2 separate regions of the Homo sapiens genome follow, and region 2 is linked to region 1. The links are contacts of gene promoters, found by promoter capture Hi-C in blood cells and fetal thymus (Javierre and others, 2016). All regions are on one chromosome and are shown on one strand. Each heading gives the region's core, a stretch centred on a gene start or on the middle of the fragment in contact. The rest is flanking DNA. Distances are from core to core; before and after follow the strand shown.

Region 1 (3,335 bases), core at 824-3,323:
GACTTGCATTTTCTTTAGGCTATTTCCAGGTGTTTGAGCCACTGGATTTGGAAATGGAAAAGTGCTTGCTTCCCAGGACCATGAGGATCGAGGAGAAGAGAAAGTCAATAAATTCATGCTGTGGTGGTTTGGGGACCAAGCCCTTATCTCAATGATCCCCACCTTGAGTGCTCAGTTACGAAAAGAGGCTCAGAATGCAGACACCTTTTGCTACTTTGGACTGCAAGTTCCTCTCTTTGAAGCCCTGCAGCTCTTAAGGTTTTCTGCGACCCTACCAAGGAAATGACCTGTGTGAAGCAAGAAGAGATTTACACCAGGAAGTCCAATCTGGAGTTCTTTCTTGGATGTCAAGAACTTTTACTTGAGCCTTTGTGGGCCGTGTTCCCTGCACCTTAGTCCCGCTGTAAGTGATGTCAGGTCTAGGAGGGCTAAGGTGAAGGAGAGGGAAGGAGGAGGTAACAGCATAAAAGAGGCAGAAGTTCAGCGGCATCATCAGTGAGTAAGGATGCACAAGATTTGAATAGGGTTGATTGAAGTGATGAATTTGATGAGAATACATGAAGAAAGTGAGAGTAGAGAAGGGACATTCATGCTGTATGTACACTGAACAAAGACTCAGAATCACAGAGATTTGGGGTTGCTCTTGGGGTTCTTTGGTCCAACGCCTCATTCTGTGCCCAGACTCCCTCCTCAGCAGCCCTTCTAGGTGTTTCTTCAGCCTCAGCGCACACACCTGCAGGGAAGGGGAGCTCCCTCCCTCCCAAGGCAGCTCATTTCTTCCACGGACAGTTGGGGCTGTCAGGTGTGTCAGAAAGTTCTTCCTTATCTGGAGGTGGAATGTGCCTCCTTCTGGGTTTCCACCCACTGGTCCTAATTCTGCCATGGTAGCAACACAGAGCACATCGACTCTTTTTCTGTGTGGCAAGTCCTTTGTTATCTGAACACAAGGCTCATGGTGTCCCTTGGCATCTTGCTTTTCCAAGGTCACCACTGCCCTGGTAGGGGGTGGGGGTTATGGCTGTCATCCTGTTGGTGGCCCATCAGCAGTTTTCTATTCGCCATTAGAGTTAACCTTTATTAGTATAGATAAAGGAGTGCTGACAAGACCTCTTTTCATGCTCAACATCCACTGAGCACCTCTTGGCAGGTGGGGAGGGAATCCAGCCTTGTGCCAGGTGCTTCTGGAAACCTAAGGGTAGCAAGATGTGATTCTTTACATCGAGAAGCTCAGGCTTGGTTAGGGGGGACAAAATAGGTGACCTCTGGGTGCTGTGTATTGGGCTTACTTTGGTGAGGCAGTAGCTATCCAGGGGTTATTGCAAGAGCAGAGTGAGTGAAGCCCAGAGTGGGAGATCCTGCAGATGCCCCCTTTGTCTTCTGGTGCCAGGATCCCAAAGGCATGGGCGATGTGGCAAGAGGGGGGCTGGAGGGAATGTAGGCCCACATTGTGGGAGTCTCCCACCCAGCTCTCGGTGAATGGCATAACTTATGGCCCTGCCTCAGTCTCTGTCCTTGTTTCCCCATGGGCTACTGAGCTGAAAAAAGGGGCTGGGGATGGGGGGAAACAGCCCTGGAAATAGCCTCTTTCAGAATCATTAGGCTGAAAGGTGAAAGCTGGAAACTGCTTTGTCGATTGTTTTTAAACTCTCTGTCTTTATCTTGCTGGTCCCTGTCCTCTTTCTTCTTTGCCTCCCTCCTGCCGCTGCGCATCTCGCTTCTGGGCTCCGGCCGCAGCCCCCCTCCCTCTCGGTACCTTGCAACAGGCTCTGGAGATTGAGCTGCGCCTCCCGAAGCAGCTCCTCTACACTCGGGGGCCTGCCCGAGGAGAGGAACACGTTCACTGGCTGTCGCCATGACGACCTCGAGTGGGCAGTCGCTGTCGCATTTTCCCGACCCGAGTTAGCTGCAGCTAGGGAAGGAGAGAGTCAGTGAGAGGCGCAGGCGAGCTGGAGGGGAGCGGCGCGCGGCGGCCAGTGGGCGCCCGCGGTTCCCCAAGGCCCGCCCCTGCGTGGGGTGGGGGGAGTGCGAGGCTGCGCTTAAAAGGCGGGGAATCGCCGGCCGCAAGATTTTTCCTCGACAGATCCTGCCGCAGTCCGCTCCCTCCCGCTCCGCTCGCCCCTGCCCGCCCGCCCGCCCGGTCGCGCGGTCGCCGCCGCCACCGTGTCGCCCGCATCCTCCGCCTGGCGCCTCCGGGCCCCGTGCCTCCGCCCGCCCTCTCCGGCCCCGGCGACGAGGTAACGCGCCCTGGGCCGAGCCGCCGGGCCCTCCGCCCAGAGCGCCGCCCTCCGAGCTCGCCCCGGTGGGTGTGGCCCGGCCTGGCCCGTGCCCCGCTGCCGCACTTCGGTCCCTCCCGAGCCCCGCCGCCGCATTTCGGCCTCCTCCGGCCGCCCGTAGTTCCAGTTCCCCTTTCCCCACCACGGAGCCCCAGGGCCCCTGGGCTTGTCGAGATGTCTGAGGCGTCAGGAAATCTCAACAGCCTCCGCATGGCGAATGTGGCCCTGCGCGAAGAATTAAATGCCCTTCGCGGGGAGAATGCCAATTTGGGCCTCCAGCTCGGGAGAGCCCTGGCCGAGGTTAATTCCTTGCGGGGCAATGTCTCCAGCTACATCCGCTGGCCAGTACCCATAGTGCCCGTCCTTGCGGAGGAGAACTTGGAGTTCGCGCTCAGTGAGATCGAAGTCATTCCCGGGGGAGAACTGCCCTTCTTGTGCCGGCCTCCCCCACGCGCGGAGCCCGACTGTATCTCGGATGATCTTTTGATTAACGTGATCCAGGATCGCAGCACCCCCGACGGGCCCGCTGACCCCCCTCTGCTGCCCATCCCGCCCCCGCCGGCGCTGCCTCCGCCCGCGTCAAAGGAACCGCCCCCGCAACCCCCTCTGGCACCGCTGGAGCGGCCTGAGATAGAGCCCTTTTCAGGAGACCCAGTCTACCTGGCTGAATTCCTGATGCAGCTAGAGACCTTCATAGCCGACCATGAGGTTCATTTCCCCGGGGGCGCCGAGCGGGTGGCCTTTCTGATCTCCTTTTTCACTGGCGAAGCCAAGGACTGGGCCATCTCGGTCACCCAGGAAGGAAGCCCCTTGCATGCCAACTTCCCGCGCTTCCTGGATGAAATCCGTAAGGAATTCTGTGGCCCCATCCCCCCACGTGTGGCTAAAAAGGCCATTCGCAAGCTCAAGCAGGGCCACTGTACCCTCGGCAGCTATGCAGATGCTTTTCAGTTCCTGGCCCAATTCTTGTCTTGGGATGACTGCCGCCTCCAAAACCAATTCCTCAAAGGCCTGTCGGAATTCTTCCGCAAAGAGCTCTTATGGTCAACAGAAATGGCCGAC
Region 2 (5,691 bases), core at 1,192-3,691, 2.0 Mb before region 1:
GTCTCATGTAGAGGATTCCTATTTCCACTAGGTGGCGGTGTTAGCTTAGAAATACTATGTGCTTGCCAGAGACCTGGTAGCAAGTAACTTCACTGCAGAGCAATGGGGAAAACTGTTTCTAGAGGCATTTTCCTGATCTTGCCTAACAGGATTTCTTTCCTAGGCTGTAAAAATCCCTGCACATTTCAATCAGAGAAAGAGTAAGACGCCACAGATAGAGAAGGAAGAAGAGTTTTGCAACGGTATAGTTGAGGGTTCTCTGCCACACACCCAGAACAGGCTATTGGAGGCTGGGTCTGGTCCAGAGGCCTTTGAATCATGCCAGTATGTCCCCTGGCCAGAAATTCTCAGTTACCTCAGAACTTTTCCCAGCCTCAAGCGATGAAAAGAAACTAGTTCAAAACATGGCCAACATTCCCAGTACTCATGGGTATTGGGGGGTTCTCCATGTTCTCACCAGCAAGCCTCACATCTGAGTCTTTAGTACAGCAGCCAACGCTGTGTATGTACTAGGCTGATGCATGCCCGTTCCTAAAGAAATACAAATGCTTACTCATGACTTTTTGGATGAATATATCTTTTTGGCTGTAGGCAGAGTAGGCTCTACATCTGAGAATATCACACAGAAAGTAGTTTGGGTTTATCTATCTAATTTTATTTTAATATAGAGGCCAAGAGCACCTTGTGAATGATGCAACAGATTTTAAGCTCGCTCCCATACTTACCGCTCCAACAAAGGCTGTACCTCAGTTTCCTGGCCAATGGATCAAAATGATATGGCTCCGATGACTGGAGGAACACCAGCGTCCTTAGTCTTGTGTCAATTTAGATAAAATGACACAGACACATGTGGAGTCGTTTTAAGGAGCAGAGAGTTTAATAGACAAGAAAGAAGGAAGGAAGAAGAAAACAGCTTCCCCGTACAGAGACAGAAGGCAGGGGGATTCGAACAAAGAGAAAAACTCCAAGTGTGATAGAAAAGTGGCTGCTTATATGAGGAGGCTGGAGGACGTTTGTGTCTGATTTGGATAGGGCTCAGGGGATTGGTTTGACCAAGCATGTCATTCACGTAGCCTGAGAAAAAACTGGCCCTCCCACCCTAGCCTTTTAATATGCAAATGCAGGGCACCATGATATTTTACACATGTGTGGATATGTGGGGGTGGCCGTGTTGCCAGGCACATGTGGAGGCCAGGGCAAGAATAAGACTGCAGGAATTGCCATGTTTGGGTGGGCCCAGTTTCTAATGGCCGGTATTTGCATATCAAAGCTTGCTGGCCTAGCTTTCCTGCTAGACAAGAAATGTTTCTGGAGTTGCTCTAAAAGAAAAAAAAGAACTTCCCAAGGACCCCTTTTCTTATCTGCTTAAAATAATTTCTTAATAACTCTTTCTTTTTTTTTTTTTTTTTTTTTTTTTGAGACAGAGTCTTGTTCTGTCACCCAGGCTGGAGTGCAGTGGCACGATCTCGGCTCACTGCAACCTCCGCCTCCTGGGTTCACGTGATTCTCCTGCCTCAGCCTCCCAAATAGCTGGGATTACAGGTGCACAACACCACGCCTGGCTAATTTTTTGTGTATTTTTAGTAGAGATGGGGTTTCACTATGTTGGCCAGACTGGTCTCGAACTCCTGACCTCGTGATCCGCCTGCCTCAGCCTCCCAAAGTGCTGGGATTACAGGTGTGAGCCACCGCGCCCAGCTCTTAATAACTCTTATAACAAGAATTATAATTTCCTCCACATCCATCACTGTTGTAGAAGCCTCCATAGCTACCTCCACCACATCTGCTGCTGCTGCCATGACCACCTCCACCACTGCAGCTGCTGCTTGTATGACTACTACTGAAGCCAGAACTGCTGGAACCACTACTTTGTCAATAGTCTCTGGCACCAAATCCTCCACTGAATCTTTTAGATCATGCATGAATACCACCCTTGTAGTGGTGTTTATAAGCTTTATTTTCCAACCAAGCAGGCACTTCTTGTTTAGCTTCTATAAGAATATCCAACAAATCCTTTGTAATATTCATATTTCTTTAATTAAAGAATGAGGTGGCAAGACCCTGGATTCCCACACATCCTGTACAGCCAATACAAGGCACATATTCTTCAATATCACTTGGCAAATCAAAATTGAAGCATGTTTCACATTTGAAATGTCTAGTCTTCATGCTGCCACAGCTGTAGCCACTAGAATTGGGATTTTCCCCAAGCAAAACTGATGAAGGGCCTCCTTCTCGATCTCTCTGTGATTGGTCTCCATGAATACTAGTACAAGGATATACTTCATGGTATAAGAAATTCTCCAGAGAATCTTCTCCCTTTTTGGTCTCCACAAACACTAAAGTCAGTGAATCCTTCCCTGGTGCATTTAAGAGATCAAGCAGAAATGACCGTTTATCTGGCTCTTCCACCCAAACTACTTCCTGTGTGATAGTCTCAGAGGTAGAGCCTACTCTTCCTACAGCCAAAAAGATATATTCATCCAAAAAGTCACGAGCAAGCATCTGTATTTCGTTAGGAAAAGTAGCACTAAACATCATGATGTGATGAATGCCCTTCAGTGGCATAGTATCTTGTTCAAGTATAAGATGTATCTGAGGTCCAAATCCCATATCCAGCATCCTATCAGCTTCATCCAACACTAAGTATTTGCAGAAGTCTAATCCAATCTTTCCTCTTTCCATCAAATCCACTAGACCTCCTGGCGTGGCTACTAACAAGTGGCATCCATGTTCTAAGACCTGAATTTGCTGACCAATATCAGCATCACCATAAACTACACAAGGATGAACTCTAGGCTGGTATGAAAATTTTCTGACTTCCTCATATCTGTACAGCCAATTCTCTTGTTGGGGCTAAAACCCAGGAGATTGAGTATTGTTCATGGCATCCATACCTTCCATTTTCCTTCACAGCCTTCAAAGCTTTTCCTGGACCATCTATATATATCTGACTCAGTACGGGTAAAAGAAATGCTGCAGTTTTCCCAGACCCTGCTTGGGCACAAGACATTAAGTCTCTTTTTTTCCCCTAATAATAGGAATGGCATGTTTTGCAGTGGAGTAGGATGAGTATAGTAAGTAAGCTCTGTAAGGTCCTCTGAGCTGGCCGCACCATGGTCAAGCCATCGTGACATTCCCCCGCCCTTGTGATAATGTACTTTGTGATATTCCCCATCCTTGTGAAGGTAGTTTGTAACATTCCCCGCCCTTGTGACAATACACCCTCCCCGCCCTTGTTAATGTATTTGTAACATCCATCCCCTGCCTGCAAAAAATTGCTTCTGACTCCACTGCCTATCCCAAACCTATAAGAATAAATGATAATCCCACCACCCTTTGCTGACTCCTTTCTTGGATTCAGCCCACTTGCACCCAAGTGAATAAACAGCCTTGTTGCTTACACTAAGCCTGCTCAGGTGGTCTCTTATACGGACACACATAGTATTTGGTGCTGAAGACCCGGGACAGGGGAACTCCTTCAGGAGACTGGTCCCCTGTCCTCATGCTACCTCTGTGAGGAGATCCACCTACGACCTCAGGTCATCAGACCAGCCAGCCCAAGGACCATTTCACCAATTTCAAATCGGTAAGCAGTTATTTGCACTCGGGTAAGCAGTGTTTTTGCTCTCTACCTAACCTCTATTGCCTCCCTTCAATCTCTCTCCTTTCAATTTCAGTTTCTCTCCCTTCCTGGTAGAGACAAAAAGGAGACACACTTTATCTGTGCATTCAAAAACTCCGATGTTGGTCACGGACTTGGGAAGACAGTCTTCCCTTGGTGTCTGATCACCGTGGGGACACCTGTCTTGATCATTCACCCACATTCTCTTGGTGGCAGGTCAATTATGGGGATGCCTGCTTTGGCTGCTCACCCACATTACAGCCCAGGACTCAGTCAGGGATGCCTACGGGAAGCCTGTAGTTGCCACCTCCATTTCTCCGTGTCTCTACCTTCCTCTTTAAACTTACCTTCTCCACTATGGGCAACATTCTGCCATCCATTCCTCCCTCTTCCCCCTTAGCCTGTGTTCTTAAAAACCTAAAACCCCTTCGACTAACACCTGACCTAAAACCTAAACATCTTATTTTCTTCTGTAATACTGCTTGGCCCCAGTACAAACTCGACAATAGTTCCAAGTGGCTAGAGAATGGCACTTTTGATTTGTCTATCCTACAAGACCTAGATAATTTTTGTTGAAAAATGGGCAAATGGTCCGAGGTGCCTTATGTCCAGGCATTTTTTTACAATTCATTCCCTCCCTAGTCTCTGCTCCCAATGCCACTTGTCCCAGATTTTCCTTCTTTCTCTCCCATCCACTCCTCTTGTCTCCACCCCAAACTCAGAGTCCTCTGAATCCTCCTTTTCCACTGACCCCTCTTACCTCTCTTCTCCCCCGGCTGCTCCTTGCCAGGCTGAATCAGGTCCCAATTCTTCCATAGCCTCCGCTTCCCCACCCTATAACCCTTCTATTACCTTCCCTCCTCACACCTGGTCTGGCTTACAGTTTCGTTCCGTGACTAGGTCTCCCCCACCTGCCCAACAATTTCCTCTTAGAGAGGTGGCTGGAGCTGAAGGCATAGTCAGGGTACATGTGCCTTTTTCTCTATCAGACCTTTCCCAAATCAGTCAGCATTTTGGCTCTTTCTCATCAGACCCCAATAAATATATACAGGAATTCCAATATCTAACTCAGTCCTTCACTTTAACCTGGAGTGACTTAAATGTCATCCTGACCTCTACCCTCTCCCCAGATAAATGAGAAAGAGTTTATTCTCTAGCCCAGTCCTATGCAGACACCTGCCGGCTTCATAAGCCAGGCCTCCAAGAGGGCACTAGGGCAGTTCCCCGAGAGGATCCCCATTGGCAATACCACACAGACTCCCCAGGTATAGCTAGGTGAGATTACATGGTCTCCTGCCTAGTCTAGGGGCTCAAAAAGGCAGCATACAAAGCTGTTAATTATGACAAGCTAAAGGAAACTACCCAACGTGAAGATGAAAACCCAGCCCAGTTCATGGCCCACTTAGCAGCTACCCTTAGATGCTTTACAGCCTTAGACCCAGAGGGGCCAGAAGGCCGCCTTATCCTTAACATGCATTTTATGACCCAATCCACTCCTGACATTAGAAAAAAACTCCAAAAGTTGGATTCCGGCCCTCAAACCCCACAATAGGATTTAATCAACCTCACCTTCAAGGTGTTCAATAACAGAGAAGAAGCCGCCAAGTGGCAACGTATCTCTCAGTTATAGCTACTTGCCTCCACTGTAAGACAACCCACAACCACGTCTCCAGCATACAAAACCTTCGGAACATCCAAGCCACAGCTCCCAGGGGCTCCTTCAAAACCTCCCTGTGGACCTTGCTTCAAATGCCAAAAGCCTGGCCACTGGGCCTCGGAGTGCCAGCAGCCCAGGATTCCTCCTAAGTCGGGCCCTGTCTGTGCAGGCCCCCACTGGAAGTCAGACTGTCTGACTCACATCGCTGCCACTCCTAAAGCTCCTGGAGCTCAAACCCAACATTCCTTGGCCGACTCCTTCCCAGATCTCCTCGGCTTAGCAGCTGAATGTCGATGCTGCCTGATCGCCTCAGAAGCCCCCTGGACCATCACGGATGCCGAGCTTTGGGTAACTCTTACAGTGGATGGTAAGTCCATAACCTGTTTAATCGATACGGGAGCTACCCCCT

What was found. Contacts are between HindIII fragments. The CHiCAGO score rates a contact against its expected background, and 5 or more counts as called.
Region 2: a fragment that was not itself captured here is called in contact with the fragment with the promoter of RTL5 in region 1 in 1 of 17 cell types (total B cells); the score reaches 5.0 in total B cells.

Annotation. Positions count from the first base shown.
Region 1 is chrX:72,130,653-72,133,987 of GRCh38, reverse strand. RTL5 (retrotransposon Gag like 5) reads left to right here and starts at 2,073. Exons shown (of 1, transcript NM_001405151.1): 1 at 2,073-3,335. The coding sequence starts at 2,448. NHSL2 (NHS like 2) reads right to left here. Exons shown (of 8, transcript NM_001013627.3): 2 at 1,754-1,909. RefSeq lists silencers at 1,993-2,052, 2,213-2,282. The HindIII fragment of the contact is 11,603 bases long and covers 1-3,335 here.
Region 2 is chrX:74,127,954-74,133,644 of GRCh38, reverse strand. All of the region lies in intron 5 of FTX (FTX transcript, XIST regulator), which reads left to right. It also overlaps the pseudogene DDX3P1 and the pseudogene DDX3P2. Among named protein-coding and RNA genes, the nearest start is that of MIR421, 88 kb to the left of the region's middle. The HindIII fragment of the contact is 973 bases long and covers 1,955-2,927 here.